Regions from separate parts of the Homo sapiens genome. Here all the other regions are linked to region 6. The links are contacts of gene promoters, found by promoter capture Hi-C in blood cells and fetal thymus (Javierre and others, 2016). All regions are on one chromosome and are shown on one strand. Each heading gives the region's core, a stretch centred on a gene start or on the middle of the fragment in contact. The rest is flanking DNA. Distances are from core to core; before and after follow the strand shown. Region 1 has its middle 12 kb from the start of PON2. Region 2 overlaps PPP1R9A (protein phosphatase 1 regulatory subunit 9A). Region 3 has its middle 6.0 kb from the start of PON1. Region 4 overlaps ASB4 (ankyrin repeat and SOCS box containing 4). Region 5 overlaps PON2 (paraoxonase 2). Region 6 holds the start of CASD1 (CAS1 domain sialic acid O acetyltransferase 1). Region 7 overlaps PON2 (paraoxonase 2).

Evidence for each region. The method cuts DNA at HindIII sites, captures the fragments that hold promoters and counts their contacts. A CHiCAGO score of 5 or more calls a contact.
Region 1: a contact is called between a fragment that was not itself captured here and the fragment with the promoter of CASD1 in region 6, in 3 of 17 cell types (naive CD8 T cells, fetal thymus and non-activated CD4 T cells). The highest score is 7.3, in naive CD8 T cells.
Region 2: a contact is called between a fragment that was not itself captured here and the fragment with the promoter of CASD1 in region 6, in 3 of 17 cell types (M0 macrophages, M1 macrophages and M2 macrophages). The highest score is 5.8, in M0 macrophages.
Region 3: a fragment that was not itself captured here is called in contact with the fragment with the promoter of CASD1 in region 6 in 6 of 17 cell types (total CD8 T cells, fetal thymus, naive CD8 T cells and 3 more); the score reaches 7.0 in total CD8 T cells.
Region 4: a contact is called between a fragment that was not itself captured here and the fragment with the promoter of CASD1 in region 6, in 5 of 17 cell types (total CD8 T cells, total CD4 T cells, total B cells and 2 more). The highest score is 8.6, in total CD8 T cells.
Region 5: a fragment that was not itself captured here is called in contact with the fragment with the promoter of CASD1 in region 6 in 1 of 17 cell types (M2 macrophages); the score reaches 5.2 in M2 macrophages.
Region 7: a contact is called between a fragment that was not itself captured here and the fragment with the promoter of CASD1 in region 6, in 2 of 17 cell types (naive CD8 T cells and M2 macrophages). The highest score is 12.7, in naive CD8 T cells.

The regions. Positions count from the first base shown.
Region 1 is chr7:95,445,864-95,448,593 of GRCh38, reverse strand. No RefSeq gene overlaps it. Among named protein-coding and RNA genes, the nearest start is that of PON2, 12 kb to the right of the region's middle. The HindIII fragment of the contact is 5,753 bases long and covers 1-2,730 here.
Region 2 is chr7:95,241,506-95,244,205 of GRCh38, reverse strand. All of the region lies in intron 8 of PPP1R9A (protein phosphatase 1 regulatory subunit 9A), which reads right to left. Among named protein-coding and RNA genes, the nearest start is that of PPP1R9A-AS1, 29 kb to the right of the region's middle. The HindIII fragment of the contact is 1,282 bases long and covers 771-2,052 here.
Region 3 is chr7:95,329,232-95,331,931 of GRCh38, reverse strand. No RefSeq gene overlaps it. Among named protein-coding and RNA genes, the nearest start is that of PON1, 6.0 kb to the right of the region's middle. The HindIII fragment of the contact is 643 bases long and covers 988-1,630 here.
Region 4 is chr7:95,488,999-95,491,698 of GRCh38, reverse strand. The region is part of intron 1 of ASB4 (ankyrin repeat and SOCS box containing 4); the gene reads right to left. Among named protein-coding and RNA genes, the nearest start is that of ASB4, 4.4 kb to the right of the region's middle. The HindIII fragment of the contact is 1,584 bases long and covers 618-2,201 here.
Region 5 is chr7:95,405,115-95,407,814 of GRCh38, reverse strand. PON2 (paraoxonase 2) reads left to right here. Exons shown (of 9, transcript NM_000305.3): 7 at 747-828; 8 at 1,568-1,696; 9 at 2,327-2,700. The coding sequence ends at 2,485. All of the region lies in intron 1 of LOC107986822 (a long non-coding RNA gene), which reads right to left. Among named protein-coding and RNA genes, the nearest start is that of PON3, 10 kb to the right of the region's middle. The HindIII fragment of the contact is 1,111 bases long and covers 703-1,813 here.
Region 6 is chr7:94,508,372-94,511,071 of GRCh38, reverse strand. CASD1 (CAS1 domain sialic acid O acetyltransferase 1) reads right to left here and starts at 1,263. Exons shown (of 18, transcript NM_022900.5): 1 at 855-1,263. The coding sequence starts at 987. RefSeq lists silencers at 600-959, 1,060-1,209, 1,250-1,469 and enhancers at 3-989, 990-1,978. The HindIII fragment of the contact is 8,005 bases long and covers 1-2,700 here.
Region 7 is chr7:95,423,980-95,426,679 of GRCh38, reverse strand. It overlaps PON2 (paraoxonase 2), which reads left to right. Exons shown (of 9, transcript NM_000305.3): 2 at 2,095-2,165. Among named protein-coding and RNA genes, the nearest start is that of PON2, 9.7 kb to the left of the region's middle. The HindIII fragment of the contact is 2,380 bases long and covers 137-2,516 here.

The sequences.
Region 1 (2,730 bases), core at 63-2,562, 940 kb before region 6:
AAAACAGCTCAATACACAAAAGGATAAAGATTCCAGAAACAGATATATATATATCTGTTTCTATATAAGAAAGCCAATTGCAGAATATATAATATATAAGAATATATAAGAAAGCCAATTGCAGAATTATAAATGGCAAATGAATATCCAAAAAGTTACTTAGCTTCACAAGAATTCAGAAGAATGCAAATAAAAAGGAAAATAAAATACTCTTTTTTAATGCAAGTCTGGCAAAATATAAAATTTTTAAATTATATCTACTGGTAAGAATGAGGGGAAGAGGTATTTTCATATTGCTTATGTATTAAATTAGTATAACTACTCTGGAGGGCAATTGGCAGTATAGTCATTGATTAAAATTAATATGTGCACCCCAGCAAATCTAATTCTAAGCATTTATTCTATAGAAACACCTGTACTGTTGTATAAGAAACCACATCCAGGATTATTTATTGAAGAATTATTTATGGTAGCAAAAATTAGAAACAATCTGAATGACTATTCATATAAGAATGTAAACTATAAGATACATCTATAATATTTTATCAGTAAAACAAACTATGGTACACCCATTCAATGAACTATTATGCATCAAAAAATAAAGTACTATTAATACTTTATTATATTTATATATTATATTAATAAAGTACTTTAATAATACTATTTAATCAAAGAACAAAGTACCATTAAAGTACTTTGTACCATTAAGTAAATTACCAAATACGTTTTAACACTTAGTATTAGTATTTTAAAGTACTATTAAAGTACTTTGTACTATTAAGTACAAACAAAGTACTATTATGCATCAAAGAATAAAGTACTAATAAAGAATTAGAACCAACAAGGATAGTATGCATACGTGACCACCTGCTCAGAGATAATACTTAAATATTTGTAACAGTTTTATATGGTCTTAATGATAGACAGTATTGATAGACAGTATAATAAAAGAGTTCAGGTAGGTTTTATGCAAGTTCAAAAGTCTTAATGGTTACATGGAAATACATTTACTTAAAATTTTTTTTTGAAACAGGGTCTCACTCTGTCACCCAGGCTAATGTGCAGTGGTACAATCATGGCTCACTGCAGCCTCCACCTCCCAAGGTCCAAGCAATCTTCCTACCTTGGCCTCCTGAGTAGCTGGGACTGCAGGTGTGCACCACCATACCCAGCTAATTTTTAAATTATTTGTAGAGATGGCGTTTCCTGTGTTGCCCAGGCTGTTCTCAAACTTCTGAACTTTAGTGATCCTCCTACCTTGGCCTCCCATGCACTGGCATTATAGGTGTGAGCCACTGCTCCTGGCCAGATTTTCTTATTTTAGCCATAGAAACACAAAATTTAATCAAGTGATGTTGCCAACTGGGTGAGGAGTTCACATTCTAATCTGATTTAAATTATGAGTAACTGTAATGATCAATTTTATATGTCAACTTGGTTAGGCCAGTATGCTCAGATAGTTGGTCAAATGTTATTCTGGATGTTTCTGTGAAGGCGTTTTTTGGATAAGATTAACACTGAAATTCGTGGAGTTTACGTAAAGCAAATTACTCTTCATAATGTAGGTAGGCCTCATCCAATCAACTGAAGGTCTTAATAGAACAAAGACTGACCTTTCCCAAGGGAGAAGGAATGCTGATAGTAGACTGCCTTTAGATTGAGACAGTACCTCTTCCCTGAGTCGCCAGCGTGCAAGCCTTCCTTGCAGATTTCGGACTTACAAAGCCTCTGTAATTGCATGAGCAAGGTCTTCAAAATAAACCTCTCTTTCTATGTATAAATACTCTGTTACTTCTGTTTCTCTAGATAACCCAATGCAGTGATGATATGGCTAAAATCCAGGGATGTAAGATAGGTATGTGGCTAGCTCACTCTTGAGATTGGTGCATATCATCATGGTCACAGTGGTTCACTCATATAACAGTTTATATCCTCTGTTTGCTAGGAAACACCATCAAGCAAAGAAAGCAACCTCAAAATTATATAGCAAAATAAGCTCAAAAATCATGTGAGATAACGTAAGTTTTCTTTAGTAGGTAAGCATTTTTCAACCCCAAGAATATTTGAAATTAAGTATATAAATGTCAAGATAAATCTGTATTATCAACAATTTAGTATTAAGAATTTTACACATATTTATTGTCTATATACCTGTAATAATTTAGATTTGGTCTAGTAGAAGAATAGCTTATTTGAACAACAGTCTTGTGATTCTAATTTTAAATGTATTATTAAGTAATTTATTTAGACTTGTGAGTTTAATTTAGTATCATTTCTTTATAAACATTAATGGAGCGGAACATTAAGAAAACTTAAGAATCACCTCTTTGGCCAGGCTTGGAGGCTCATACCTGTAATCTCAGCACATTGGGAGGTTAAGATAAGAGAATGACTTGATCCCAGGAGTTCCAGACCAGCCTGGGCAATATAGTGAGACCTCGTCTCTACAAATATAAAAAAATTAGCCAGGCCTGGTGACACATGCCTGTAGTCCCACCTACTCGGGAGACTGAGGTGGGAGGACTACTTGATTTTTTGAGCTCAGGAAGTCGAGGCTACAGTGAACCATGATTGCACCACTGTACTTCAGCCTGGGCAACAGAGAGAAAGACCTTGTTTAAAAAAAAGAAAAGAATCAATTTATTTGATATATGAGTTATTTAAGTACTCAAAAAATTTTGTTAAATCACACAATGTAGAGCTTAAAAAGGAAAAAGAATATGTCAGTTT
Region 2 (2,700 bases), core at 162-2,661, 730 kb before region 6:
GAGAACAACTGCGCAAAGTTTGGAGTGTTACTAAGTATAGCTAAATTCTTTACATATAGGAAAGCAGAATGAATTGTGTAAATTCACATTATTCAGAATGGACAAGATTTTCTTAGTACACATGAGGCCTAAAATTAAAAATATGCGATTATTTTAATTCTGTATGTACATTAAGAGAATTTCTACAAATCCATCACTTTTGACAAGAAAAGCATCAAAATACACTAACTGAACCCTTTTTGTTTTATATAGTATGGACCTGTGTCTAGTGAGCTTACCTTGGAAGGCTATTAGGTGCCAAAGCCAGGTTTTAGAAATCCCAGCCCATGGTTCTTTCCACTAATACTAAATTTCTTACATTTGTAGGCCCCTTTATTTTTAATCATCTCCCTTTATCATTGCAAATGACTGGGGGAGGCAGGGCAGGTGTTGTGAACCTCATGGTTCAGATGAGGAAAGAGGCTCAGGGAAGTCACACACCTTTTCAAGTTCCCACTAGAAACAGGTGATGGAGCGGAAACAAAACCAGATTTGACTCTTCCTACCTCTGTTCCTCCCTTAACCATGTATCTAACTGAACCAGTTGCTTTGGGATATATTTTTCATTTAATCTTCCCCCAAACCCCAAGCCATATGTCATCATCATAACCTCTCAGATGAGAAGTTATTACTCCAACTGGAAACCATGGATCACTTCTGGTAGTCTCTGAGCATTCTGACAGTGAATGCAAAATGGTGCTCAATCAGCTGCTGTTATTATTAATGAAGCTTAGAAAGCAGACCTCCACCTCCCTTAATAATCAATTGGCCTTTAGTGACTGAGACTACGTGCTAGGTACTATGCTAATCACTGAGGATACATGAACATGACATAGAATCTACTTTCAAGATACTTCAGGGAGATTAATAAAAACACCTTGTAAGAATTCTCCAGATCACCCTGTGAGAAAGGTCAGAGGCAACCTGCTGCTGGATGGCTTGTTTAGTCTTTTGTTCCTATAGCCAGATCAGATGTCATGTGTCTTTGGCCTGTTTGTCCAGACGTGGACCCTACTTTCCAAGCAAAGTGAGCAAGATGGACCCAAGTTATCTCCATTTCATGAGGAAAAGAAAATTGCTTTTCACAGGGGTGAAGGACCTCGACAAATGAAGCATAGTTGGTAAAAGGTTGAGTTTTCTTATTCTAGAGCAGTTCCCTTTCCACATGTTTAAGAGATTTATGTCAAGAATCAATAACCTTTTCAAAGTACAGGTCCAAGAGTTTGCAAGAATGGTCAGGCACGCTGACTGCAGGGATAGAAGGTTAACAGGGCTGGTTAATAGAAATAGAGCCTGAGATGCCTGTTGGAGTTTTTGGGCTTCAGAGAAGCTAGGTTTGGAGAAAAGAGTTGGGATTAGGAGGGCATAAATAAAAAGAAAAGGTTAAGGACTGCAGGTAAAAGTCTTTTAACTTACAAGACCATCATTTTCATCTCTTCAGTCATCTTTAATATGAAAGCCATAGATATGCACCTCAGGATTTCAGCACAAATAAACATACACATTCCTATGAGAACAGGAGCTTTCATTTAACATTCTGAAGGTGTACCTGCTGTGTATAATTTTTTTTTCAAAAAGATGAATACAGAACATGCACTCATATTACCGGATCGATATAATCCAAATATAACTGTGCTAGAAATAGAAACATCCTTTACACAGAAACTTAAATAGTGAGACTGAACTTTTGCCCTCTCTCTACTTATCCTGTGAGAGCATGGAAACATTTTTCTTTAAAAAGTGAAAAATATCTTTGCAGGAAATGTTTTAAGAGAGCTCTAGTTCTAGAAATATTACAATCAGATAAGGGCAACATTTTCTGCTGTTGCTTTACAAAAGCAAATCAATAACTAATATTTGCATAGAACTTTATAAAGTGCTTTCTAGATTGGGATCTAAATTTTTAGTTATCTTTGTGAGTATTTGAGTGATGTATGTCTTACCTACAACAATATAGCTTCACAAAAGAAATCAAAGCTGTTTTTAACTACATTTTGGTGTTAAGATGAAGCTTTGCCATATTTCTTTGTAATTTCTGCTGAAAAGTTTACATATGGTATCTATCCAGTATTAACGAAAGTGTTTTACTTAGGGAATCATGTATGCAAAATGAACTAAAACTGGCTGACTGAACAATATCACAATCTAATCTGAATGGTAACACTAATGGCAGCATATGTAGCATTGGGTGAGATTCTCTAACAAGGTCACTCCCTAAGTAGGTACTCATAAACTTGTTATTAATGATGCTGCTGCTGGATGTAGTTGATGGCCTGTAATTACAGCTCTTTTTTAAATAAGTAACTGTTTGCTATTAAGTAGGCAGCAATTTATAGCTTCCCTACATGGTAGTGGAAACTTCCATAAAGATAACTTAATGTTATTATCCCATGCATTTTATAACTTTTCTAGATTCTTTTTCATAGAATTAAATAAATAAAATAAACCAACTTTTAGACTCCATTTTTTCTTCAAGAGAAATGTCGAATTTTTTTAATTGTTGCAATTGCTGTGACTCCTGAGGAGGAATGGCAAGGGAGAAATTGGACAGTCACTTTAAATGGTACCTGGCTAACAGTTCCTGAGCCAGCCTCGCCGTACCTTCCATTAAACTGCCAGTGTAATCACATTAAAAACAAAAAAACTCACAATCAAAAATGA
Region 3 (2,700 bases), core at 60-2,559, 820 kb before region 6:
CTGTAATTTTAATTTCCCTTTTTTGTAATTAATTGTCAGGTTTTAGTATCAAGGTTATATTCACCTGGTGAAAGACTTGAGAGTTATTTCTTCTTTTTTTATTCTCCAAAAGTTAGTGTAAAATTTAGCATTTTTTCTTCCTTAAGTGTTTGGAATAATTCACTTATGAAGCTACCTGGGACTAAAGATTTCTTTAAGGGGGATTTTAAAGTATAGATTACATTTATTTAAAGAATATAGAAATATTACAATTAAATGTTTCTGCTTGTGTATGCTTTGATAAATTTAGCAATTCATTCTTTTCATTTAAATTTGCAGATTTAGTGGAATAAAGTAGTTCATAATATCCTTTTGTTACATATTTAGGATCTGCGGTAATATCCTCTTTATTTCTCACATTTAGAATTTGTTTTCTTTCTCATTTTCTTTCTGTCAGTCTTACCACAGTTTTATATCTTTCATTAGTCTTTTCAATAATCAACTTTTGAATGTTTTGTCCTAAGTTTTTATTGTAGTAAATTTCACATAGTATAAAATTCATCATTTAACCATTCAATGACATACAATTCAATGGCATTAAGTATGTTCACAATATTGTTCAACCATCACCATGATCTTGCGCCAGAATATTTTTCACCATCTCAGAAGGAAACCTATGTGCATTAAGTAGTTATTCCCCATCCTCCTCTCCCCTGCAGTTCCTGACAACTACTAATCTGCTTTCTGTCTTTATGGATTTGCCTTTTCTGGCTATTTCATGTAAATGGAATCCTATAATATGCTGCCTTTTGTGTTTGGCTTCTTTCACTTAGCATAATGATTTCAAGGTGCATCTATGTTGTGGCATGTATTAGGACTTTATTCTTTTTTTATAACTGAATGACACTTCATACAATGGATAGTCTCTCTTCAAGTTTGTTTTTTATTTCATTGATTGCTGATTTTATCTTCATTTCCATCCTTCTCCTTTCTTTGGATTTTTAAGCTTTTTGAGATGTGTGCTTAGACAATTGAAGTGAAGTGACATAGTTCTGTTAGCTTTCCCTTTTCGTACTTTCAGTTTCTGTTTTTAGGTGCACGTCAGTTTTGGTTTGCCCATATCTAGACATACAAACTTAGGGCTCCTACACTTCCTAATTGGATGACTTTGTATGAATGGGGATAATCGTATTGATCCTATCTCCTTGTCCAGGGTCTTGTGAGAGAATGTAAGGTAAAAGCATTTTGTAAACTAACTTCCAGACTTGGATAGTACCTTGTACTTTGCACTGCCATTGCTTTATATCTGCATAGTGCTTTCACAGGTTTTTAAAAATTTAATACAGCAAACCCACAGGAATTATCTCCATTTTACAGATGTTATTTCTGCTACTATAGAATTTTCAGGAAGTGACCATGAATTTAGTATTTAAAGCCCAGGGTTTTTGGGTTTTTTTTTCTTCCAGCTTTACTATAGCTGCCTCATGCAGAATGGTATTATTGGCATTCTTAGAACATTGGAATTTCACACTTTCAGAAACTTGAGAACATTGCAACAACTGCCAACAGGGCTCAGCATCCTCTGCAGATGAACAACACCAAGTGGTATAGTTACCCAATCAATCCTTTTGCACTTCTACAAAATTAAGCTTGGCAAACTTGGCTCTGGCTTTCTACCAATTCATTGACAGTTTTTACTGACTACTCCGTGAATTAGGCTTTTTGTGGGAAAATAAAAGAATGGGTTGATGTGATTGTTACCAAATATATTTAGGAAGAAGTATTTGAACATGTGCAAATAAATACTTAGCACATGAGGATCAAGGGAGGAAAGGAAAGGGATTCTAATAGTCAAGGTGAGATCTGAGTTTTTAAAGAAGTTTGCTTTTTAAATGTTTGGTTATACATTTCTGGTGATAAAAAAATTCTAAGTTTAAAACACCTTCATAACTTCTCATAACATTTAAAATCTTCACATAGCATGGACTCATACTCTTGTCTGCACATTTTAACATGTGTGAAATAGGAAATTATTGTATAATTAATAGTTTCTTAGAATTGTGTTGTAGATTAATTATAGTTTTTCTTTTTTAGTAGTACATAAAATAAAAGAATAATAGATAGTTATGTATTTAACACTGATGGCATTACAGTAAATAAAATATGGAACATTAAAGTATTCCAGAGGATTCTGTAATAACTTTTAAACATTCATTCATTCATTCATGTATTCAACAATATTTATTGAGCACCTAGATTTTGTTAGGTGCTGTACCAGGCGTTAGAGCTATAACAACAAGCAAGGCATTTTTATACAGGCTTCTGGTCTAGTGAGAAAAACAGTACCGTGATAAAGTATTAACAATACAGAGTGGCAGGAATAATAAAGAAGCAGCATGGTGCAATGAGACATATGAGAATGGTATCCAAGATTTAGACATCAGGAAAAACTAGTAGAAATAAATTGCAAACAGGTGCCTGAAGGAGCAGGTAGGATTTGATCATGTTAAGAATGGGGACTAGTATTCATACCCTCGTGTAATTCCTTCACCTTGAGAGAACAGAATGAATACAACATGGAAAAAATGATATGTCACTTTGAAAATTAGGTTACAAAGAGATGGTGACTTCCATCTGGCTTGTTAAAATGAGATCACAGTCCTGGCCAATGCCTGGGCTACGACCTTGGGAAAGACCCTGAGGCAGAGGCACCAGGTAAGT
Region 4 (2,700 bases), core at 160-2,659, 980 kb before region 6:
CTTCTGCTGATGCTGATATGTCAAGAGATCAGAATTTGTCCCCCAAAATATAACCACCAATGACCACAGCATGCTAGAAACACAATTAACTGATGAGGCAGATTCATTTTTTACACACTCCCTTCTTCCCACAGCAAAATTTTTCCAGGGCTTCGAAACCTAGAATGTGATTTATTCCTAGTATTTGTCTTTCAAAAGCCCCCCTCTGCTCACCTCTGCAGACTTCAGGCTGCCCTTTTACTATGTGTTTAGACTTCACAAAGGACAGAGGTGAGGGAGAACCGGGGAACCAAGCCCATGGGAGCTAGGGGTGGGAGGTGAAGCAGCGGCTGCCTCCCTCTAATGTAAACCACTCACACGCTACCCCATGTCTAGAGTCTGTGTGCAGTGACAGCTCCTTGCAGAAGAGTTCTGTTTGAATAAGAAGCTCCACTAAGAAGAAAAGAAAAATAGAGATTATTTCCCCTGTGTACAAAACCCACAGGAACTCCCAAATACAGGCCATGCCCATGTGGCTTTGACCATGATACATAATCTGTTTACATAGTTTCACCTTCATAATGTGATTAATTATCTGCATGCCAGAATCTGAACTTAGAGAGGGTCTTGTCAAAGCTTCCATTTTACAAATGAAGATAATTAGTCTGGAAGAGGTTAAGTAGTATAAAGTGTCCATGTTCATATAACAAGTACCCACAGAATCAACTCTAACTCTCAAACTCCATTGCCCCCAAATCTTTAAATAGCCGTCTATGATCCGAAGGCTACATGCAGTTTACCTCCAAACTGATATCACTTGTAGCTAAAAGTTCTAAAGGAATTTGAGAAGTTTTATCCCTGAAAAGAAAATATGCAGACTAATCGTGTGTGTGTGCACGCGTGCGCGTGTGTGTTTAATTTAAATCTGAAACCAAAGAGATATGCCCCAATAGCTGGGTAGAAAGCTGCCTAGAAATATAGCAAGGAGCAAAGTGTTTGGGCCTTCTTTTGGAAGAGGGGATTGGTTCTGCTCCAGCGTTTGGAGAGGATGTACACATTTCTGGTAAACCTTCAGCTAAGCCTGGGCTCTGCAACAGTTATCAACTATAATGTTATCTGAGTCAAAAGAACCCCACACATGAGAAGCCTCTGTTATTACAGCCAAAGGTTACACACACTGCTCGTGGCTGGATTAGCAGACATTTGCTCTGCCTGTGTCCATGTATTTACACAGTCCTGAAGGATTACAGACTGAAGCACAATTCTTGGCTATTTTTTAATAGCTAATATTTTCCAGATAACTCAAAGTTCCCCTGGGAAGGGGGGATAAAAGCAAGTTTGAAGTGTAAAATGTAAAAGAAAAAAGTTTGAACATCGAAGAAAGGAAAAGAACCCTAGGATGGAAATGGGAAAGCAGGAGAGTGAATTTCTGGCAAAGAGGAAAATTAGGTGATAAAGAAATTATTCATTCAGAGAGTGGAAATAAGAGCTTTCACAATATTGGGATATAAGTTGCTACTTAGTAAAGGAAACAGAGTACCTGCCAGAAAGTTTTTTAAGTGAAATCATTCATTGGTTATTTTAATTAAAAATATGACTACCAACCAAGGAATCAGTGGCTATGGGCCATAAACGAAGTACTTAAAGTGCATTACCCTGATTAATAAAAGGACTCTGATTAACCTTGCTGACTAGGGAATTTCATACCAAAGAGATAAGTATGAAATTCTGCCTGTATCATTTATGAGCAAAAGCTCATACATCTGAAGGAAGATCAAGTTGGTAAAGCCTTTGGAAACAGTTTTATGGACAGTCCTTCGTCTTTCCAGTATGGAAGTAACCAGTGAAAACCAATAGAAGGGACATTTGTGTTTTCTTTAAAGATTTCTTCTGTGCTTGACTTCACTCTAAATACTCAGTGGTTGGCTCATAATTAATGTTATATCACTGACATCCCTTGACTTTCAATGACTTATTGCATTTGGCAGTTAGAAAGTCATTCTTTATGTTTTCTTTATATCGTTTTTATTTTAAAGTGATCATCTGGTAAACGCAATTTTGGCTTACTTGTTTTTGCTTTTAAGACCCATTATCTCCGCCATTCCCAGGGAGGTCTCTCAAATGCCAACCAGCACATTTTAAATGTTTGCTTTACAAAATGTGAGAAAAGTTTCTTTAAATTAATAAAACATGATTTCATCTGCAGATTTTATTATGAAGCTTAAAATAACTTAGAAAAGTAAAGTGAGAGCTCTCTAACTTTAAGAATCATGATTAGGTGCTGGAGAAAGACAGGATCCACAGTTTGAACATGAACTCTGGAGGCTGGCTTCTAAATCTGTTCTCTGCCAAATTGGTAAGAGAAGCTATTCAATGAGATGGGCCCAGTGCTACAGAGGAAAGCAGAAATGAGCTTCCAGACTTATTTGTAATCCAATAGCTTTATTCTGTCTTCCTCACAAAATACACATTTCATATTTGCTTATGAGCTAAACTTTTGATTACTGGTGTGCCCAGTAGATTGTAAATTTGGGAAGCACTATTTAGATTTTAGGTGATTTATTTGCCAGCAGAGTTCTGAGTTCCCTTTTCAAAAATTATACACTGACTTTCATATAGGCTTAGATGGACTATATTTAGGGATAAAATTTAGTTACTTCTTAAATCCTATAAAAATGCTGTATGTTCTAAATAAATAAGAATGGTTTAGAATTGATTGTA
Region 5 (2,700 bases), core at 9-2,508, 900 kb before region 6:
GTTAGCTATTTCTAGACCTGAACTATTTCTCATGCTTATTAGGTGTTTAATGTGTACAAACCAGTGAGATTTGTTCCAACACACTATAAACTTTCAAGGAGAGAGGCTGTGTCTTCTTCATGTTTATATCTGCTGCAACACTGAGTTCATGGCTTTTCACACATAATTGCTCAACAGAGCAGGTGCCATGGAAAGTCAATTCAATGAGTAAAATTACCTCAAAATAGTCTGTTAATTCACTCACCTTTGAAGTAGACAGATTATTCTGCATTGATACTTATCTCTTACTCTTAAAATTCGCTATGTATTAATAAATATTTTATTGAATATTAAGGAATGATCACTATTTTAATAAGATGTTCTTTACCATATATTTCTATATGTACATGATAATTAGAAGTATCAAATTATATTGTGGAATGTAAAAGCTTTTCTTCTGAAGCCAAGCATTTGTTTTATTGTCATTTCAGTGGCAAATATGGACTTCATATTCAAAATGATGTTCTATATTATTTTTCCTTACAAGCTTTTTGAAAAACAATTTAATAATTCCATGATTGTTGTAGCACCACTGAATTGATTCTGAAAGCTTACTTTTTAAATAAAAATTGACCTTTATCAAGCATTCCTTGAGGGCCCATGATTGATTAACTTCTTGGCAGGTTATTAAGACTTATTCTTTCACACTGTATTAATGAAGCTTTATATTGGCATGGAGCTCTAACCACTGTGTCCTTTCTGCAAAGGTATATCTATGTTGCTGACATATTGGCTCATGAAATTCATGTTTTGGAAAAACACACTAATATGAATTTAACTCAGTTGAAGGTAAAATATTTATTTTTACATATAGACAGTAATCTATTATGCTTTGCAATGACATAGTTTTTCTATAAGAGTACCACACGTAGAACAAAATATGGATGCCAGTGTAGCTATTCTGGGTTTTTAAATACTCCCTACAACTAGAGAAAGCTCCTGTTTCCAGCGATCTCAAGAACTGACCATGATTACATGCAGCAGCAGGTTGAGAGTGATATTCATCAGATTTAGGGCCCATTCCATGAAGTATTGATGGCAGTGGAAGAATTCCAATAAGAATTTTCACAATTGAAAATACTAATAGATGAATTCTCAAATGAAGGTTTATGCACAGTGTCAGTTCTTTCAATAATACATGAAGGTAGAAATTGGGTTCCACACCATTATTATTTTCTTCCTACTCAACAACACATATTTTAGGTTGATTAAGAATTTCCTATCTTGCTTTGATTGAGTTCCTTGAGCTAACTGATCATTGTGCATCTTTTAAAGGAAAAGGAGTTCAGTTTTTAAGATAGATTTTTACAGAGACCGATTATCACCCTAACTTTCTTAATTTCAGGGAAGAAGAAAAGTGGCTCCAAACCAGTTTTTAATACATTCCTTTTAAGCAATATTGGTGTTAGAAGGTGGAAGCAGGGCGATGTGTAATTTCCTCACATGCATAGAGGCAGGAAGGTTACCTCTAAATTATTTAATCAAGTTTCTCATGTCATTTAGATTTTGACAATTTCTCATTTGGAAGGTACTTGAGCTGGATACACTGGTGGATAATTTATCTATTGATCCTTCCTCGGGGGACATCTGGGTAGGCTGTCATCCTAATGGCCAGAAGCTCTTCGTGTATGACCCGAACAATCCTCCCTCGTCAGAGGTTTTTATATTTTCAGTTTTTTAAACTTAATTATTCAAGTCCTTTTGAACTAATAATACAATAAATTGTCACAGGGATGATTTGTTTAGTTATTTTAAAGCAATAATATAATAAGCTTATGTCGTGGTTTTGTAATTGCGTTAAGCCAATAATTGGCAGAATGTTACATTGTTCAAATACTTTAAGAAAGGTAATCTTTTGATGTATTAAATTATGGTGGAAACTAGTCAAAAGGCATTTTTATAAAGACATGTGCCCTTCTTGGGTGGTATACTGGCAATTTTTAAAATATCTGATTTATTGTCAGCTCACCACATGATGTGATATTTGTTCATGTTGAAGTAGTGTGAAAGTAGGCACATTAGTATGAAAGTATTTCTATTAAAGCTGAATTGCTATAATAACACTAAATCCTGTGTTGGCATGGAATAACTAGATGGTTTTAAGAAAGTACTTTCTTTGAAGATTGGAGAAAGTACTTTAATTTAAACATTAAAAAGATTGGTAACTGCTATTTTCAACAGCATGTCCCCTTAATCAGTGTGTCATTGTGGAAAACAGGGCTTATTGATGATTGAGTGACATGCATGTACGGTGGTCTTATATTCATACTTTGTATCCCCTGAATAGGTTCTCCGCATCCAGAACATTCTATCTGAGAAGCCTACAGTGACTACAGTTTATGCCAACAATGGGTCTGTTCTCCAAGGAAGTTCTGTAGCCTCAGTGTATGATGGGAAGCTGCTCATAGGCACTTTATACCACAGAGCCTTGTATTGTGAACTCTAAATTGTACTTTTGGCATGAAAGTGCGATAACTTAACAATTAATTTTCTATGAATTGCTAATTCTGAGGGAATTTAACCAGCAACATTGACCCAGAAATGTATGGCATGTGTAGTTAATTTTATTCCAGTAAGGAACGGCCCTTTTAGTTCTTAGAGCACTTTTAACAAAAAAGGAAAATGAACAGGTTCTTTAAAATGCCAAGCAAGGGACAGAAA
Region 6 (2,700 bases), core at 14-2,513:
TAAATATCCCTTGATTACTGAAAGATAATTCATTCTCAAATCAGGTCATATTTCCTTTTCCCCTTTACACCAATTTCAAAACCCATGGCCAAGGCCTGCTTTCAAAGTGCTTACAACTTGCTTTCAACTGCCCACCTTTACGCCTGTCAACCCACAACTTCCTTCCAAAAATCTGCTCTGGTGCCTTAACTTTGTAAAAAGTGTGCACTCCGAAGCCTTTAAACGTTTCTGCATCACAAAAGCTGGGTGGCACCTCTTCCATTTGGCCACAGGCATCTTTTGCCAGCTGTCGCCCTTTTGGCAAAGGAAAATGGGGGCGGCCCTTGCCGCTGTCCAACAGCCCAGACTGGGTGTTACAGGGCAGAGGCAAAATTAAACAAAGGCTAAGGAGCCGGACCCTTAAGAGGCAGGACCTGCGACCCCACTGCTGGCAGCGGTGCCCCTTGCAGGGCGGCCTTGGGCTTCATGCGCCCCGGGCTGCCCCCAAGGACCGCCTGTCCGACTTCCTGCACGCGAGCCCCTGATCTGGAGCGTCTCCCCGAACCCAGACCGCTCAGGAGCCGGACCTCAGCAGCACTTTTGGCCAGGTCCAGGGTTGGCGCCCCCGACCCCAGCGCGGGCGGCTCGGGGCGCCCAGAACCACCAGCCATTGTCCTTTGGTGGCCCCCACTGGGGTCCACTCAGTTGGCCTCGGGCGCCGGCCGCTGCTGGGGACACCTGGGGGAACCGCCTCCCCCGCGGGCCGGGCCGGCGGAAGGCCGCGTGGGCGTGTGTTGGGCGATGGGGGCGGCCTCCAGCCGCCGCGTCGCCGCCTCCCCCACGGCCTGCCCGGGCAGAGGGGAGGGCCCGCTCACCTCGGTAGCGGCGGGAGGCGAGGTGGCACGCTGCGAGCAGCAGCACGGCCACCAGCGCCAGCACCTTGGCGCTCCTCACGCTGAAGTAGTGGTTGATCTCCCGCTTGCCCAGGTTGTAGGCCAGAGCCGCCATCTTGGTTCCTCCATGACAACAGTGCGCGGCGGAGCGGGAAAGGGGCGCCGCACAGGGGCAGCACTGGGGCTGCCGCCGCTGCAGCCAGGCGAGGAGCGGCCGCCAGCTCCCCAGGCCGCCACCTGCGCCTCCCGCCGGGGAACCTGACCCCGCGGCCGCGGCGCCCCCGACCTCCGCCTGCCCCTCCTCGGCCGCGGCCGACTCGGCGGCCTCCCCCCAGCCCCGCCGCCGCTGCTCCGCCGTGCCGGTTCCCCAGGCGCCCTGGACGCCTGTCTCCTCCCCTTCCTCCTCCTCTTTAGCCTCCTGCCTTAATAGCGGCTGCGCCTGCGAGGGGGGTCCGGATGCCCAGTGCTCCGGGGTCACCGGGTCACGCGCCCCGGCGGGCGGCGGCGGCTGCGGCAGAGCCATGGGGGTGTGGGGAGAGAGTACTAGGGGTACCCGCCTGGCCCGGACGCGAGCCTTAGGGCTGTCTCCTAGTTTACTGGCCGCTACCTGAGCCCAGGTTGGGGCAATAGAACTACAGTTCCGGGAGAAAAGTACACATCGTCCCATTCCTTCCTTCCCCAACACTCCCCTTTCTCAGCCTTCTACTGCCAGAACCCGCCCAGCGGGATGCGAAGGACACCCTAAGGTCGTTTATTGTCTGGCTATCCGTGGCCTGGCTGGTCAGTCTGGCTGCCCCTGGGTGCTGGCCAGATTGGATTGATGGATCCAGTTGATGGTGCTGGCCGATGGATTGCTGGCATCCAACCCAGGAGTGAAACCAGTCTTAACACTTAACTCACCGCTCTGGCCAGTTTCTCTTAAACCGTTTTTTTAATGTCCTCAGTTTGCCCAGTTCTGGTGGGCGAAAGTACACCAAAGTTCCGAATGGAAGGTACAGAAGGAGCCTAACTTAGTGTAGGTGTTGATGAGAAAAGAGTCTGACTCTCACTTGTATTTACGCAAGTTTGGCTAGGTCGATGTGCCAAAAAAATTCGTTTTTTTTGAGAGGGAGTCTCACCCTGTCGCCCAAGCTCTAGTGCAGTGGCGTGATCTTCGCTCACTGCAGCCTCCCCCTCCTGGGTTCAAATGGTTGTCCTGCCTGAGCCTGCCGAGTAGCAGAGATTGCAGGCGCCCGCCACCACACCCGTTTAATTTTTGTATTTTAATAGAGACGGGGGTTTCACCATTTTGGTCAGGCTGGTCTCGAACTCCTGACCTCAAATGATCTGCCCATCTCGGCCTCCCAAAGTGCTGGGATTACAGGCATGAGCCACCAAGCCTAGCCAAAAAAAATTTTTCTTAATGTGCTTATGACAATCATCCCCGCTACTAACGTTGGTTAATGTTTTGTGATTCTCAATAAAGCCAGCACTCCATTTCCTTAATAAAGCATTGTTATCCCTACTCTCCTCTCGCTCCCACCCCACCTTTTTTAAATGGTTTTTCTTGTTGCCTTCCAGATGGGAATGGTTATTTACATTGCTTGCCATTCTACTTGCCTTGCCTTGTTTAGAGTGAGTCATTGTTTAGTTGGGGTGTTGTCAAGTATTCTTTACAACTTTCCCATTTAGCCATTCCTGAACTTGTGCTTATAGGCCCCTCTTAAAATTATAGAATATTAGATATGAAGGGACTGTAGAGATCTTGTCTACTCATTCCCATTCTCTTCATCCAAGGACTCTTTATTATGTTTTCATCCATGGACTTTATATCTTGAAAGATTTTGTC
Region 7 (2,700 bases), core at 77-2,576, 920 kb before region 6:
TTATCCATAAAGAAGACTGACACCTATAGAGATTAACTGACCTGCCAAGGGTCATGGCAGTTTCACTGCTGAGACAAGAACACAGATCCCTTTACTTCTTTCTGAGAAAAGTACAAAGTAGTTTAAAGCAAAAGCTTCCCTGCTTCCAGCACTTCTGGCTAAGTTGCGCCGTGGGAAAATTGTTTTGTCTGATTCAGTTTTCTCATCTTTTAAACTGGAATAATGCTACCTAATTTACAGGGTTGTTTGAAGAATTAAATGAATGCATGGAGGTAAATCACTTAGAACAGCGGTAAATTATACTTTTTTATTATTTATTTCCTTTGACCACCCACAATTATCATCAGTGTCATCCTCATCATCACAATTAAGATTACTACCACATTAGGCTACATAAACTTTTTTTTTCTCTCTCTGTTTTATAATTTCAATTTTATTTTAGATTCAAGGGGTACATGTGCAGGTTTTACATGGGTATATTGTCTGATGCTGAGGTTTGGGGAACAACTGATGCCATCACCCAGGTAGTGAGTATAGTACCCTATAGTTTTTCAGCCCTTGTCTACTCCCTTCCCTTCCCCTTCTAGTAGTCCCCAGTGTCTACCATCGTCATCTTTATGTCCATGTGCACCATTGTTTAGCTCCCAGTTAAAGTGAGAACATGCAGTATTTGGTTTTCTAGCTTATTTTTCCTCTCTTAAATCACTTCTGTGACACGTAGGCCATGAGATTTATTGTATTTTTTAATGCCTTATTTAAAAATTTGTATTATTTAATACATTTAATGCATTATTTTTTATTATATTTAAATATTGATTTATTTGTACTTTTTGCCTTATTGCTATATTGTTTCAAAAAATTTAACATTATTTGAGTTACATGATTTCAAATACATACTGATTAACATTTTAATTAGAAACTTTATGTCTGATATGAATTGCCAAAATGTGTAGTTGGTACAACCTATGAGTCATTCTGGGTTATCTAGAAGAAACTGGTAGCCTGCCCCATACTCCAGAAGCCTTCCCCAGTGTCTAGACCTCAGAAGCTGTCAGGAATATGCACAGGAGAAGGACACATGGCAAATAGCTATTTCGTCTCTTAAATGTATGGTATGTGGGAACCACTGAAAAATGTAAAGTTTCTACAAGGTGCTATTTTTATTATTTATGGCTCTAGAGAACAGAGAAGGTGAAAAATGTGAGAGAGAAGGGAAAGCCAATAGTATGTGGCCTTCAAAACAAAAGATCCCACAGATATTGTCCCAAACTGCTTCCTGGCCCTCTAGAGTGGAGAGGGAGGGGGAAGACATCCTATTAGAGTTCAACATTCTCTTATTATTTCCTTCTTTTAATTTTCTGGGTATACAACAGCAAATAGTTTTGCTGAAGTAGTTACAGAACTAGTTGGTGTTCTCCAACCTTCCTATTCCAATACATACTGTCATGGATGGGTACACTAAAATCTCAGAATTCACTGCTATATCACTCATCCATGTAACCAAAAACCACATGTACCCCCAAAAGCTATTGAAATAAGATAAATACATTCTTATTTAAAAAAATACTGTCATAGGGATGCTACCTTCTTTTCTTTTTTGTTAGTAACTATTTGTGGGATGTCTTTGGTGTGTCAGGCTCTGAGCAATGCCATTTTCTCTTGGCTTCTTTGCAGTCTCTGTGTGAGGCTTACAGTCATTTTTCACGTTTGACTCTTCAGAAGGAAGACAGGGCTACTGGTTCTACATCTGGAACTCTTTTCCCACAACACCAACACTGAGAAATGTGACATGGTGCTGTGTTTACATTTGCATAGGAACTTGCATTATAAGTTTTATTTGTTGAGTTATTGGCTTTTTTTTTTTAATAACCCACATCAGTATATAGAACTTTGCAATAGGCATTTTTGTTTTAACTTCATTTCTGGTGCAGTTTTATTTTCCTACCCTTGTCTTTCTATTTTCTCTTTCATCTGCTTTAGACTTAAACTGTGTTTTATGTATTGCTGTAAGCCTCTTTAAACCCTTTCTAAAACAAAGCAGGGAATACATAAACAAATAGTTTTTTGTTTTTTGTTTTTTTTTCTTTGTAACAGAAATCGACTTAAAGCCTCCAGAGAAGTAGAATCTGTAGACCTTCCACACTGCCACCTGATTAAAGGAATTGGTATGTATATGAAAATGCTTGTTGGGCACATTGCATTTTTTGGCCATTAACATTAAAACACTCATTAATGGCATTTTAGCATGAAATTACTGCTTTTCAGTGGATAAATCACATTAGATCAACAAAAACCTCTTTGGTCAACCTCTTGATCTGATGAACCCTGTATTTATTCTTCTTTCCTACCCTCACTGTAAATTATTCTTTTTTGTGTGTAATTCTATGTTTAGCATTTGATTTCTTGCTTGTTTTGTGACTTCTCTGAACTATTTTTGTTGCGTCTGTATTGTTTGTCAGGTATGGCCGCTGCAGTCTGTGTTCTGTGAGCCTTGTGGTCAGCTAGTGAAGGAAGCTTTATGTAGGCAGTGACAGCATTTACCCTGCTCACTACTCTATAACTAGGATCTGATCTTATGGCTAACACGTAACTGACCAATATGGTTTGGTTGTGTCCCCACCCGAATCTCATCTTGAATTGTAGTTCCCATAATCCCCACGTGTTGTGGGAGGGACCCAGTGAGAGGTCATTGAATCATGA